Regions from separate parts of the Homo sapiens genome. Here all the other regions are linked to region 1. The links are contacts of gene promoters, found by promoter capture Hi-C in blood cells and fetal thymus (Javierre and others, 2016). All regions are on one chromosome and are shown on one strand. Each heading gives the region's core, a stretch centred on a gene start or on the middle of the fragment in contact. The rest is flanking DNA. Distances are from core to core; before and after follow the strand shown. Region 1 holds the start of CNN2 (calponin 2). Region 2 holds the start of KLF16 (KLF transcription factor 16). Region 3 holds the start of TCF3 (transcription factor 3).

Region 1 (3,922 bases), core at 879-3,378:
CAGCTACTCGGAGTCCCAGCTACATATATATGTGTATTTATATATATGTGTCTTCAAAAAATGGAATCTAGTGCCAGTTTTTAATTTTTAATTGAAATTTAAGAATAGGAAGTATTTGCTGGGTGCGGTGGCTCACACCTGTAATCCCAGCACTTTGGGAGGCTGAGGCGGGCAGATCACGAGGTCAGGAGATCGAGACCATCCTGGATAACACAGTGAAACCCCGTCTCTACTAAAAATACAAAAATTAGCTGGGTGTGGAGGTGTGCCTGTAGTCCCAGCTGCTGGGGAGGCTGAGGCAGGAGAATGGCGTGAACCCAGGAGGTGGAGCTTGCAGTGAGCCAAGATTGCGCCACTGCACTCCAGCCTGGGTGACAGAGCGAGACTCCGTCTCAAAAAATAATAATAAAATAAAATAAAAAGAACATGAAGTATTTGCTTCCCTGATGGCACCAGCCACACTTCCAGTGCTCAGTAGCCCCATGGCCAGTGGCTACAGTAGTAGATAGTGCCACATTGAAAATTTCCTTCATCTCAGAATAACAGAAATGGTCAGCACTGGTCTAAAATGACATGGGTCGGCCAGGTGCAGTGGTTCAAGCCTGTAATCACAGTACTTTGGGAGGCTGAGGCGGGTGGATCACCTGAGGTCAGGGGTTCGAGACCAGCCTGGCCAACATGGTGAAACCCCATCTCTACTAAAAATAAAATAAAATAAAATAAAATAAAATAAAATAAAATAAAATAAAATAAAATGTGTCAAACTCCTATTGATGCTTCAAAACCCCATCTCCCTTGCCTCCTCTTACATGCAGCTTTCCTTGATTCCTCCGACAGAGCCCCAACTCTCCCTCCAGTTCCTCCAGCCCCAAGCCTCTCATTCTGTCCTGTACTTGCTCATATAGGGAAACAGGGTGGGCGGGGTGGGGGGGTTCCGCCTGTGCTGGCTCATACAGGGAATCCGGGTTGGGGGTTGGTCTGTGCCAGCTCTGTCTTCCTGGGCATGGGCTGGGCCAGAGCTAAGGTCTCCTGAGAGCCAGCACTGCCTGGCAGGAGACTGTCCCGGAGACTTTTTAATAATTTATTATTATTAGGGTTTTTTTGTGTTTTTTTTTTTTGTTTTTTTTTTTAAGACGGAGTCTTGCTCTGTCGCCCAGGCTGGAGTGCAGTGGCGCGATCTCGACTTACTACAACCTCCGCCTCCTGGCTTCAAGTGATCCTCCCACCTCAGCCTCCTCAGTAGCTGGAATTACAGGCATGTGCCCCCATGCCCGGCTAATTTTTGTATTTTTAGTAGAGACGGAGTTTCGCCATGTTAGCCAAGCTGGTCTGGAACTCCTGACCTCAAGTGATCCGCCCGCCTCGGCCTTCCAAAGTGCTGGGATTGCAGGCGTGAGCCACTCGGATTTTTATTTTTATTTATTTATTTATTTTTAGAGAGAGGCTCTTGCTCTGCTGCCCAGGCTGGAGCGTCATGTTGTGATGATAACTCACTGCAGCTTCGACCTCTTGGGCTCAACGGATCCTCCCCCTTCGGCCTCAGCCTCCCAAGTAGCTAGAACTCCAGGTGCAAGCTACCGCACCCAGTAAGAATCCTATTCTCTTTTGGACTGACAAACTCCTACTCATCCAACAAAGCCCCAGCTCCAATGGCCCCTTCTCTGAGGAACCTGCCCTGGTTCCCTGGTCCACCTCCCAGCTAGTAGAGTTCCCTGGGAAGGGGTTAGACGCCTCTAAGTGGCAGAGAGGGGCCCTCATTCCTGCCCCAAAGGTAGCCTTCTCCCCTCCCCTTTCTGGCAGAAGAGAAGTCTGAGATGGAGAAAGAGTGAGAGCCGCCCACGAGCTCTGAGCAGAGAGCCCGCAGGAGTGCCACGTCCCGGCGGCCTCGGCCCCTCCCTGCCTCAGTTTCCCGTGGCATCAAAGGGGGCGAGGGGCCCCTCCAGGCCTCTGGTGACGGGGGTGCTGTGCCCAGGCGGGGGTCCGGGGGCGACCGAGGGGGCTCAGGAAGTCCGCGGCCGCAGGAATTCGGCGCCTCCAGGCCTTATAAGGACATTTGCGCTCCGGGCCAATCAGCGGCGGGGGCGTGGCGCGCGGAGCCCGGCGCGTCCCAACCCCGCGCCAGCCCGGCGGTCCCGTCCCGTCCCGTCCTGTGCGGCCCCGTCCCGCCGCCCGCCCGCCAGCCATGAGCTCCACGCAGTTCAACAAGGGCCCCTCGTACGGGCTGTCGGCCGAGGTCAAGAACCGGGTGAGTGAGGGGCGCCCCTTGTCCCCCCGACAGCGCGGCCGTCGCACGCTCCGACCGGTGCAGGAGCCCCCAGGCGCCCCCGGCACCTCCCGGGCAGGGAGCTTGGAGACCCGGGGCGGACGGGCCCTTGTTCTCCCTGACGCCTGGTGGGGGGATGTCTGCGGGCACCCCCTGAGGCTCCCGCGAATCTTGGGGAGCACCCAGGTCTGAGATCTGGGGGACGAGTGACCCATTCCCCCCCCCAACATCTAGGGGTAGTTGGGTCTGACTTCGTCCCCTCGCCATGGCCCCAGGACCCCCACGTGTGAAGCCCCTGGCGCCCACTCAACCTTCGAGAAGGTCCGTTCAAGGTCCGACAACGCTCTGGGGGTCTGGGGGGGACCCCAGCAACCCCGTCATCTCCTGGCCACACTTCTGCTTTTGGGGCCTCTTAGCTTTGGGAGGGGAAGGGGCATGGCCGAGTGGTTTTTGAGAAGTGTTACCCCCCCACAAACAGGAATTTCCTGGCCTCTGGGACACCTTGGGGGTGTCTTGGGGGGAGGGGCGGTAGCCGCTTTGCACGGTCTTTGTCTCCCATCTGACTAATTTAAACGGATAACAAAGAGGTTCTCTGAAGGTGGCCCTGAGATATGTGGGGTTTTGCAGCCTCGAAAGAAGAGCTGGGGCCCGGCAGGGCGCGGGGGCTCACGCCCGTAATCCCAGCACTTTGGGGGGCGGAGCTGGGTGGATGGCTTGAGCCCAGCGAGTTCGAGACCAGTCTGGGCAACATGGCGAAACCCCATCTCTATAATTAAAAACAAGCCAGGGCTAGGGGAGACACTTTTTAAGAGAGCACTTGTGGTTCTAGCTCAGAGAGGACCAGACACTTCTGCAGGGTCACACAGCAGGGTCCTGGACAGGATTCCCAGGGAAAGTGGGGGGCGGGGGTTGTGATGCGAGACCCACGGACAGGACCGGGACCTGACCCTCCAGGACCTTCCAGCTGGAGGGGGGTGTCGTCCCCGCCCACCCCCTCCCCCGACGCCCACTGGGCACCTGGGAAGGTGTCCTTACAGCTGACTTCTGCAGGGGAAACTGCCTCTGCACGCTCTGAGGGCACCGGCCCTGCCAGCCCCAACAGCCACCTGCCCGGCGGCACTCCAGGGCCGGCAGACTGGAGGGAGAATTCCTGCTTCCCCGCTGTGAGCCCCTGCAAGCCTTCAGACCAGCTCTTGGCCAAAAAGGGAGGCTGAGGCTTGGGGTGGTCAAGGCCTGAGCCAGGGTCCCCAGCCCGGGGCTCACGACTCCTCCTTCAAGGGGCCATCTGCACCCTGCATTCATAGAGCCCCCCGTGCAGTGGGGTGGGCACCCTGCCGCACCCTGCATACAGCCGGCTAAGGGCACCGGTGTCCACAGGGACCCAGAGACGTCGTTCCAGCTGCCCAGGGCCACACAGCCCACAAGTGACAGGGCCAAGACCGGAACCCAGTACCTGCTGGGCCTGCGGAAGTGGGAGCGGGCACAGGAGGGTGGGGCGGCTTCCGGAGACGGGGTGGGGTGGGGTGGGGGCAGGTTGATACCTGCCCTGGCGGGGGTGAGGACAGAGGCTGGAAGAGCCGCTTAGCAGGCTCCCCGCGCAACCCTCAGTCTGTCCGTTTGGAGGGTGGGCGAGGCGTCGGCCAGCTTGCCAGGGTCACG
Region 2 (3,922 bases), core at 725-3,224, 840 kb after region 1:
GACGCCCTCGGTTCCCGTCTGTGTCTCAAGGTGGGCAGAGCCTCCAGGCCCCTGGGACCAGGACAGGGACTGAGCGAGGGGTGAAAAGAGTGCAGAACAGAGAGGGGGCGGCCGGCAGGCTACACACCACCGCCCCCACCCGCCCTCCTGCTCTCCACCCTCAGGCGTCCCAGCGCGGCTCCCCATACCCCAAAGATGGACCCTCAATTCTTCCGCAAGGCATTCGCGGCCCCTGCTCATCTCAGCCCCACCACTCTGGACGGCCCACTTCCCTTCGGCTGCTCCACGTGTCCCTACAATCCGAGCCCACGGACCAAGCCTCCTTGGAGTGTCCAGCTGCCCAAAGCGGCCACCGCTATGGCTATGAAATAGAGGCAGCATCGCACTCTTGATAGAAATGAGAAAATTGAGACCCAGATCGGGTAGAGGTCTTCTGTTTGGTGGCAAGGCCAGAATGCCAAGCCCAAGGGCAGCCGCACAGCTTTCCCCCAGCCCCCCACCCTCCCCGGAAGGGACAAGCACCTCTAATGCCCAAACCAGGGCCGGCCATCAAGGCCCACCGTCCCCTGTTGCCCAGTCCAAACTCCCAGTCCAGAAAGTGGAACCCTAGGAGGGGACGGAGTGAAAAAATACAGCCAGGCCCACCAGGCTCCCGGTTCCCCTCGCCGCCCCGGGGACTGCGCTAGGAGGGGCGTTGGTGTAGCCGAAGCGCTCCAACTACGCGCACCTTCCCGAATCGCCCGCCAGGTAGGGGTGAACAAACACGCCAGGGAAATACAGCAGTGTGGACCCGAGCCCCTCGAGGGTCCTCCAATACTATGAAGTTCCCCCGCCCAGACTCAGGCCCCAACCCGCGCTCCTAGCCTCGCCCTCCCCCTCGTTAAAATACAGAGAACGCAGAGAAAACGTGCCGGGCTCCCCCCATCCTGGCCCCACGCCAGGTGCTCTGCCGACCTCTGGGGAGAATCCGCGCGGCCACCCCGGCGGCGGCGACGCGGTTCCTCCTCCATTTTCACAGATAAGGAAACTGAGGCTGGGGGAGGGGGAGAACCCAGAACCCCAGAGCCGGATGCTCCAACCACGGTGCCCACCGCCCAGACCAGAACGCAAAAGAAAAAAAAAAAAACGGAACAAGGCCCAGAAAGGGAGAGAGGTGGTCTGCCCAGGAGTCTCAATCCCGCCCGCAGACCTCGCTGGGCCCCCGGAGCCCCCGCCACTGCCGCCGGGGCGGCCATCCGCTCGCCGCCCGACCGCGTGGCCGCCACGCCCCCCGCGCGCGCCCCACCCACCGAGGCCCCGCCCTGCCGGCCGGCGCGGCGGCGGCCCGGGCGCGCCCCCCTCCCCGCCCCCCACGCGCCACGCAGTTTCGGGGTCCTGGCGGGGGAGGGGTCTCAGGCGGCCGCCCCCGCAAGGGCCGGGATCGCGGCTGCACTCACCTGTGTGCGTCCGCAGGTGCGACTTTAGGTGCGAGGACTTGTAGTAGGCTTTGGCGCAGTCCGGGAAGGGACAGCGGTGGCTCTTGGCGGCGGCGGAGGGCGCGGCGCCGGGGGCGCGGCCCGAGGACGGGGACGAGGCGGCTGAGGAGGAGGAGGCGGGCGAGGCGCCCCCCGGGGCGGCTCCGGGTCCGCCGCGCAGGTCGGCCAGGATGCTGGCGGCCAGCAGGTGGGGCGCCGCGGCGGCGCCGGGGCCCGGGCCAGAAGCGGCGGGGGGCGGCGGGGGTGGCCCCGGGGTCCCGGGTGAGGCGGCCTCGCGGCGCGCCGCGCGCACATCCAGGCCGGCGGCGGGGCCCGCGCCCTCGGGGCCGGGCCGCCCGCGGTGCACCACGGCGCCCGAAGAGATGGCCATGAGCACGTCGGCGGCGAAGTAATCCACGCACGCCACGGCCGCCGACATGCCGAGCAAGGGCGCGCGGCGCGGCGGGCGGAGCGGAGGCGGCGGGAGCGGCGTCCGTCCGGCCGGCGGCGGCTGCTCGAGTGCGGGAGGCGGAGGAGGAGGAGGAGGAGGCCCGGCGCGCGCCGCCGCCGACGCCCGCGCTCGGCCTGCCCCGCCCCGCCTGACGCGTCCTGACGCACCGGAGCCCGCGGGGGCGGCCACAGCCCGCCCCGCCCGGAGGACGCCCCCTCGGGGCGCCGCAGCCACGCCCCCCGCCCGGCGCGCCCTCCACCACTCTCCGAGCCGCGCGCGGCCGCCGGGGGCGGGGCTCGGGCCGGAGGAACCCGCCCCCCGGCGCGCCCACTCCGGCCTCCGCCAGCGCCTAGCGTCTTAGGCCCGGAGCGCGCCTTCTCCGCGCTAGGGTGCAAGGCCGGGAGCCCCGCCCCCTCCCGGCGCGCCCCACTCCAGCGCGCGCCCCCGTACCCTTTCCCGGAGCACCACCCCCTCAAGCCGGGGCGGGAGGCCGAGGACCCCGCCCCCTCTCCGGCACGCCCCTCCTTCCGAGAGCGCGCCCCGCCCCATCCCGGCACGCCCCTCCCTCCCAGAGCGCGCCCCGCCTCCTCGCTGGCGCGCCCACCCCACGCCGGGGCGCGCGGCCGGCGGGAGCCCGCCCCCTCCCCGGATGCTTCCCTCCTGGCCCCGGGCGCGCCCCCGTTCGCGATGGAGGAGGGCTCCGATCCCCACGTGGCCGGGGTTGGAGGGGTGCGGAAGCGGCCGGCCCCGCCCCCAGGCCACGTGCGCGACCCTTCCCCCCTCTTCTCCCGGCCTGGGGCCCTGCTTTGACCCCGCACTCAGGCATCTGCTCGTCCTCTTCTCTGGGGTTCCCCCTCGCCGCTCACAGAGCCCCTCGGAGCCTCCCGGCCGAGACACCCGGTATCCCGCGCCCGCGGCGGGGCCCGGGAGGGTGGGGCAAGGCTGCGTTCGTTCCTCTTTTTGCACCCAGTTCCGGAGCTACTAGAGCGCGCCCCACTGGGGGTGGGGAGGGCCGGTTGGGTCCCAGAGGGTCGGGATAGGGGGACGGGAAGAGGGGGCCGAACGCAAAGGGCTGGGCTGGGCTGGGGGCGCCTGAGCGGGTCAGAGGTTCCCCGCCCTGCTGGGACACCGGGGTCCGGGGCTTCTCTTTCCATTCCCAGGCATCGATTCTTGGGGTTCGGACGGGAAAACTGAGGCCAGGTATTCGGGCCTCCCGGCCGCGAGGACGTCCAGGCCAACTTGTTAAATATTAGGGGGGACACCAGGGACGCGGATGGCCCAGTTCGCAGGCCCAAGGCGGCGGGGGCACAGAAACTGGGCGGCCCCCCTCGGTCGCGACCGCGCTCCCGCCCCTTCCCAGCTCCGGCGGGGCGGCGGGGACTGCGCAGTGGCCGGAGCTGCCTCCAGGGGGCGGAGCTGCTTTGGCCTGCGGCGACCTCCTGCTCTGGGTTGGGCATGGACAGAGGCCCTGACCCGATTCGGGGCTTCTCTAGCCCCATCCCCCGCCCACCTGCAACCCCAGCTGACGCCCTGAGGCTGACCACTGTTCCCTGGGTCGCCCGCACTGCGCCTGGGCTCAACCATGCTTGGTTAAGCCAGCTGAGCCCTCCCTGGGCCCCAGTAAGCCCACTCTACGTGGCTGGACAGAGCGGAGCCGAGAGAGAGGAGGTTCAGCGAAGTGTGGGAGGGTACAGGGTGCCCTGCACACACTTGCCCCTCTCCTAGGCCTGGGCTCCAGAGCCCTCTCTGCACCCCTACCATTCGGTGGGCGCTGGGGGTCGGCGTTCCTGCTCCTGCTGGGCCTCTGTTGTCTTTGAACTTCTAGGACGATGGGCCACTTGGGCAGGTCCCCCAGGTCCCCACCATCCCAGCAGCCCCCAGGGTCCTGGAACCCCGCATTGGCTTGTGGACAGGTGTGTCTTGAGGCCTCAGGGTCCACACCCAACCATGCGTCTTCCACTGATGTTTCCTGGGCTTAGAGCAGAACCAACCAGCCCTGCCCTCAAGGGGCTTACAG
Region 3 (3,922 bases), core at 656-3,155, 630 kb after region 1:
TCCTACCCCGCCCCGAGGGAAATTTGGTGATTCCCCCCTCCCCCAGCAGATGGCACAGCCCGTTGAAGACCAGGTCGCCCCCAAATTCAACATGAAGGAAATCCACAAGTCAGAAAACCACGAAACTCTTTTACAAGCTTCAAGACTTAAAGTGCCGGGGGTGGGGGGGACGCGCATCCTATGCAGGGACCAGCAAAGCTTTCCTCCACCCTCAATCTCCCTCCCCCCAAGAAAACCCCAACAGTATTCAGGAAAGAAAAAAAAAACAGCCCTAGATTGCTTTACTGTCGCGATGTATCCGGGAATTATTTTTAAGCAAAACTTTGACAACATCCCTTGCCTGCCCTCCATGAGCGGGGAGAGCGTCTCAAGACCAGGGTGCTCCCGCGTGGTCCCAGGGGGCTCCATTCTAAGATGGGGGATGGGGGATCCACCTGCCAAGACCCATTCCACCCCCAGAAAAAGGTACAGAGAAAAATTTCCATTCCAAAGAAATGCACTCCAGGCCCCTCCAGTCTCGACTTTCCCCAGGGGTCCCCAGGTGGGGACGGGGGCAGCCCGGGAGACACCTCCGAGGCTGGGGGTGGGGAGGAGCCTCCGAGGTCGAGGGAGACCCAACTTCAGAAGCAGAGAAATCCCCTCTTTGTCTGCCAACTGGAGGCCGGGTGTGAAGCGGGCGCCCCAGCGCAGCCCCTCCCCCGCTCAGTTTTTTTCTTTTTTGGAGGGCGTGTGAAACTGACTTTTTTTGAGGACTACGAAACCGCACTTTTTTGTGGGGTAGCTGAAACCGATTTTAAGACAGACTTAGTTGGGGGGGTGGCGAGCTAAAACGGGCATTCTACGGGAGCTGGAAGACTTCTGGGGCGTCCCAAGGACTTTGAGAGACTTGGAGAATGTTTGAAGCCACTTTGCACGGCGCCGAAGGCGGGGGGCGCGCTGGAACGCCTTTTTCCCGGGGGGAGGCGGCCCGGGAAGCCGGACCCCCCTCCCCCCGCAGCCGGTGCAGGCGGTGCGGCCCGGGAGCCTTTGAAGCTCGCAGCGCGGCCGCCGCCTCGCCCCGCATTAACGCGGAGCAGATGTTACCCGCGCGCCCCCCCCCGGCCCGCCCGGCCCCGACCAGCGCCTGCAGCGCGCGGCACCTTCCCCGCGCAGACAAAAGGACGTCCCTCCCGCGCGCTCCCCACCCCAAACTCCGGCGCCCGGGCCGGGCCCCCCTCTACCCGAGAAAGGGGGCGCCCCGGGGTCCCCGTGCGCCCGGGCTGGGGGGGACGGTCCTCGCGCCTAAGTTGCACAGCCCGTCCGGCGCCCCCCGCGCCCCCGCCCGGGGCTGCTTAAAGTTTCCCGAAGTGCCCGGCCCGACGGGGGCGACGCGGGCCTGGCGAGCTCCGGGCTCCTCCACGTCGCCGCCCCCCCGGCGCCGCGCGAAGTTGGAGAACAATGACTCCCGGGCCGCGGGGCGCCCCCCGACACCGCCCCCGCCCCAACTTCCTCCGCGCCCCCCCCCAACAAGCGCGCGCGGGGCGGGCCGGGGTTCCCTGGGCACAAAGCACGGGGGTACCGGGCGCGCCCCCCGCCCCCCGCCGGGCTCACCTGCTGGGCGCGGCCGGGCACGCGGCGCGTGGGGGGGGGCGGCGGCATGAAGCGGGGGGGCCCCCCCCCGGACAAAGGTGCGTCGCGGCCGGGCCCCCGAGGGTCGCGCGTGGGCGGCGGCGGCGGCGCGCGTGGCCCGGGCCCCTCCCACCCCCGCGTGGCCCGTCCCGCGGGGCCCGTGCGCGCGGCCGGCCGGGGCGCCCCTGGGGCAGCGGCGTGCGCGGTGCCCGCGGTGCCCGCCGCCGCGTCGGCTCCGGCCCGCTACGCCCGCAGCCGCCGCCGCTGCCTCATCTTCCTGCGGCGGGAGACATGTTCCGCCCCCCGCCCGCGCCGCCCCGCCCCGCCCCGTGCAGGCCCCGCCCCTGCCCCGCCCCCGAGTGCCCCGCCCGGCGGCCCACGCGGATCCCTCCGCCACCTCCGGGCGGCTCGGGCCCGAACGCCCTAGCTCGGCCTCTCGAGCACCCTCGTGAGGACCCCGAATCCCGTGAGGTCCAGAGCCTGGGAGCGGGGACGCGCAGAGGAGGCGGTCGGGCCACGGCGCGGGGAGAAATCACGGACTATCCCCGTCCGCGGAAGCACACACGAGCTGTGCGCTTAGTCCATGACGCAAGCGAGTAAGGCCCGTGAGATTGAAAGCTAAGGCAGAGCAGTCTGGTCAATCGGAAGCCGCGAAAGTCTGATGGGCGGGGATCCTAGCCATTCGTGGTGAGGCCCCGCCTCCTTTCTTCTCGGCCCCGCCCCTCAGCAGAGGCGGGACTCTGCGAGCGAGAGGCCGCGAGAGGCGGCCGGGGTGGGTCCTGGAGTTTTGTTCTCAGGTTGGCGTGGCCGCCCGCGCGGAGCCTTCTGCTTGGTTATATTTGCGTTCCTCGGGCCGGCCCCGCGTGCTGAGTGGTGCGAGCGGGTATCACGGCCCCGAGGGGGCTACGTCAGACCCATTTTCCCGGCGGGAAAACCGACTCTGGCTCCGGCTCTGGGTCAGAGAGCCCCGCGGGGAGTCTCAGCGGTGCCTTTGCCGACTTGAGTCTCCGTCTCGGCATCTGTGAATTTGGACCTGACTTTGGACAGAACTCAGGCCAGATCTGGCTTCCTGATTCTTAGTAGTCCGTGTCTACATTTTAGTAAAAAGTGACCCCGCCTAGGATCGGGCGCCGTGGCTCCTGCCTGTGATCCCAGCGCTTTGAAGGAGGCCGAGGCGGGAAGATCGCTTGAGGCCAGGAGTTCGAGAACAGCCTGAACAACATAGTGAAACCCCCCCCACCCACACCCGTCTCTAAAAATATTTAAAATAATTTAAAATAATAATTTAAAAAGTTGACCGGACGCGGTGGCCCACGCTTGTATTCCCAGCACTTTGGGAGGCCAAGGCGGGCAGATCACCTGAAGTCAGGAGTTCGAGACCTCTCTGGCCAACACGGTGAAACCCCATCTCTACTAAAAATACAAAAATTAGCCGGGCATGGTGGCGGGCACCTGTAGTCCTAGCTACTCGGGAGGCTGAGGCAGCAGAATCGCTTTCACCCGAAAGGCGGAGGTTGCAATGAGCCGAGAGCACGCCATTGTACTCCAGCCTGGGCAACAAGGACGAAACTCCGTCTCAAAATAAATAAATAAATAAGTAAAATAAAATAAAAATACAAAAATTAGCTGGGCGTGGTGGCATACACCTATAATCTCAGCTACTCGGGAAGCTGAGGCAGGAGAATCGCTTAAACCCAGGAGGCAGAGGTTGCAGTGAGCAGAGATCGCAGCACTGCACTCCAGGCTGGGCGACAGAACGAGGCTCCGTCTCAAAAAAAAAAGTAAAATAACTAAACAAATAAATGAAAATAACACAATCTCCCAGGGCTCCCTGGGGCCCCAAAGGGAAATTTACACTCCACTCCCAGCCTGGGAAGATGCCACCATCTCGCTGGCCCGCTTGGCTCCAGCCATCCTGCCCTCTGGATGGTCCAGAACTTGCTAAGCTCATCCCCACCCCGGGCCTCTACGTTTGCTTTGTCCTCTACCTGGGAGGCTTTTCCCACCCCTATCTGGAGCCCCTGAGTCATCACAGTTCAATGCTGCACCTATGCCAGGCCGGCGGGGAGGCGGGGCCACAGGGGCCCCCCACCAAAGCCACAAGCCCCTCCTGCTATACACCCAAACTGGGCTGTCCACAGTCCGACCCTCCGTGCCCAGAGAGTTCCACGTGCCGCAGGTCTGGGGAGAGGGCTGTGGGTCCCAGGGTCTGTGCTGCAAATCCCTCATCCCTCTCCACCTCACTGTGACCTCAGGCAAGTTCGTGCTACTCTCCGGGCCTCGGTTTCTCCATCTGGACAGTGGAAGGGGGGAG

What was found. The method cuts DNA at HindIII sites, captures the fragments that hold promoters and counts their contacts. A CHiCAGO score of 5 or more calls a contact.
Region 2: the fragment with the promoter of KLF16 here is called in contact with the fragment with the promoter of CNN2 in region 1 in 2 of 17 cell types (non-activated CD4 T cells and naive CD8 T cells); the score reaches 6.0 in non-activated CD4 T cells.
Region 3: a contact is called between the fragment with the promoter of TCF3 here and the fragment with the promoter of CNN2 in region 1, in 3 of 17 cell types (total B cells, erythroblasts and naive CD8 T cells). The highest score is 9.0, in total B cells.

The regions. Positions count from the first base shown.
Region 1 is chr19:1,024,480-1,028,401 of GRCh38, forward strand. CNN2 (calponin 2) reads left to right here and starts at 2,129. Exons shown (of 7, transcript NM_004368.4): 1 at 2,129-2,245. The coding sequence starts at 2,183. RefSeq lists an enhancer at 1,055-1,786 and silencers at 1,777-2,416, 3,906-3,922. The HindIII fragment of the contact is 13,555 bases long and covers 1-3,922 here.
Region 2 is chr19:1,861,605-1,865,526 of GRCh38, forward strand. KLF16 (KLF transcription factor 16) reads right to left here and starts at 1,975. Exons shown (of 2, transcript NM_031918.4): 1 at 1,437-1,975. The coding sequence starts at 1,893. RefSeq lists enhancers at 1-403, 3,511-3,922, silencers at 1,218-1,387, 1,438-1,617, 1,948-3,047, 3,118-3,337 and a promoter at 1,864-3,068. The HindIII fragment of the contact is 13,147 bases long and covers 1-3,922 here.
Region 3 is chr19:1,650,710-1,654,631 of GRCh38, forward strand. It overlaps TCF3 (transcription factor 3), which reads right to left and starts at 1,906. Exons shown (of 19, transcript NM_003200.5): 1 at 1,591-1,906. RefSeq lists silencers at 825-944, 925-1,147, 955-1,184, 1,275-1,354, 1,885-2,014 and 1 more and enhancers at 2,365-2,414, 2,535-2,644. The HindIII fragment of the contact is 10,400 bases long and covers 197-3,922 here.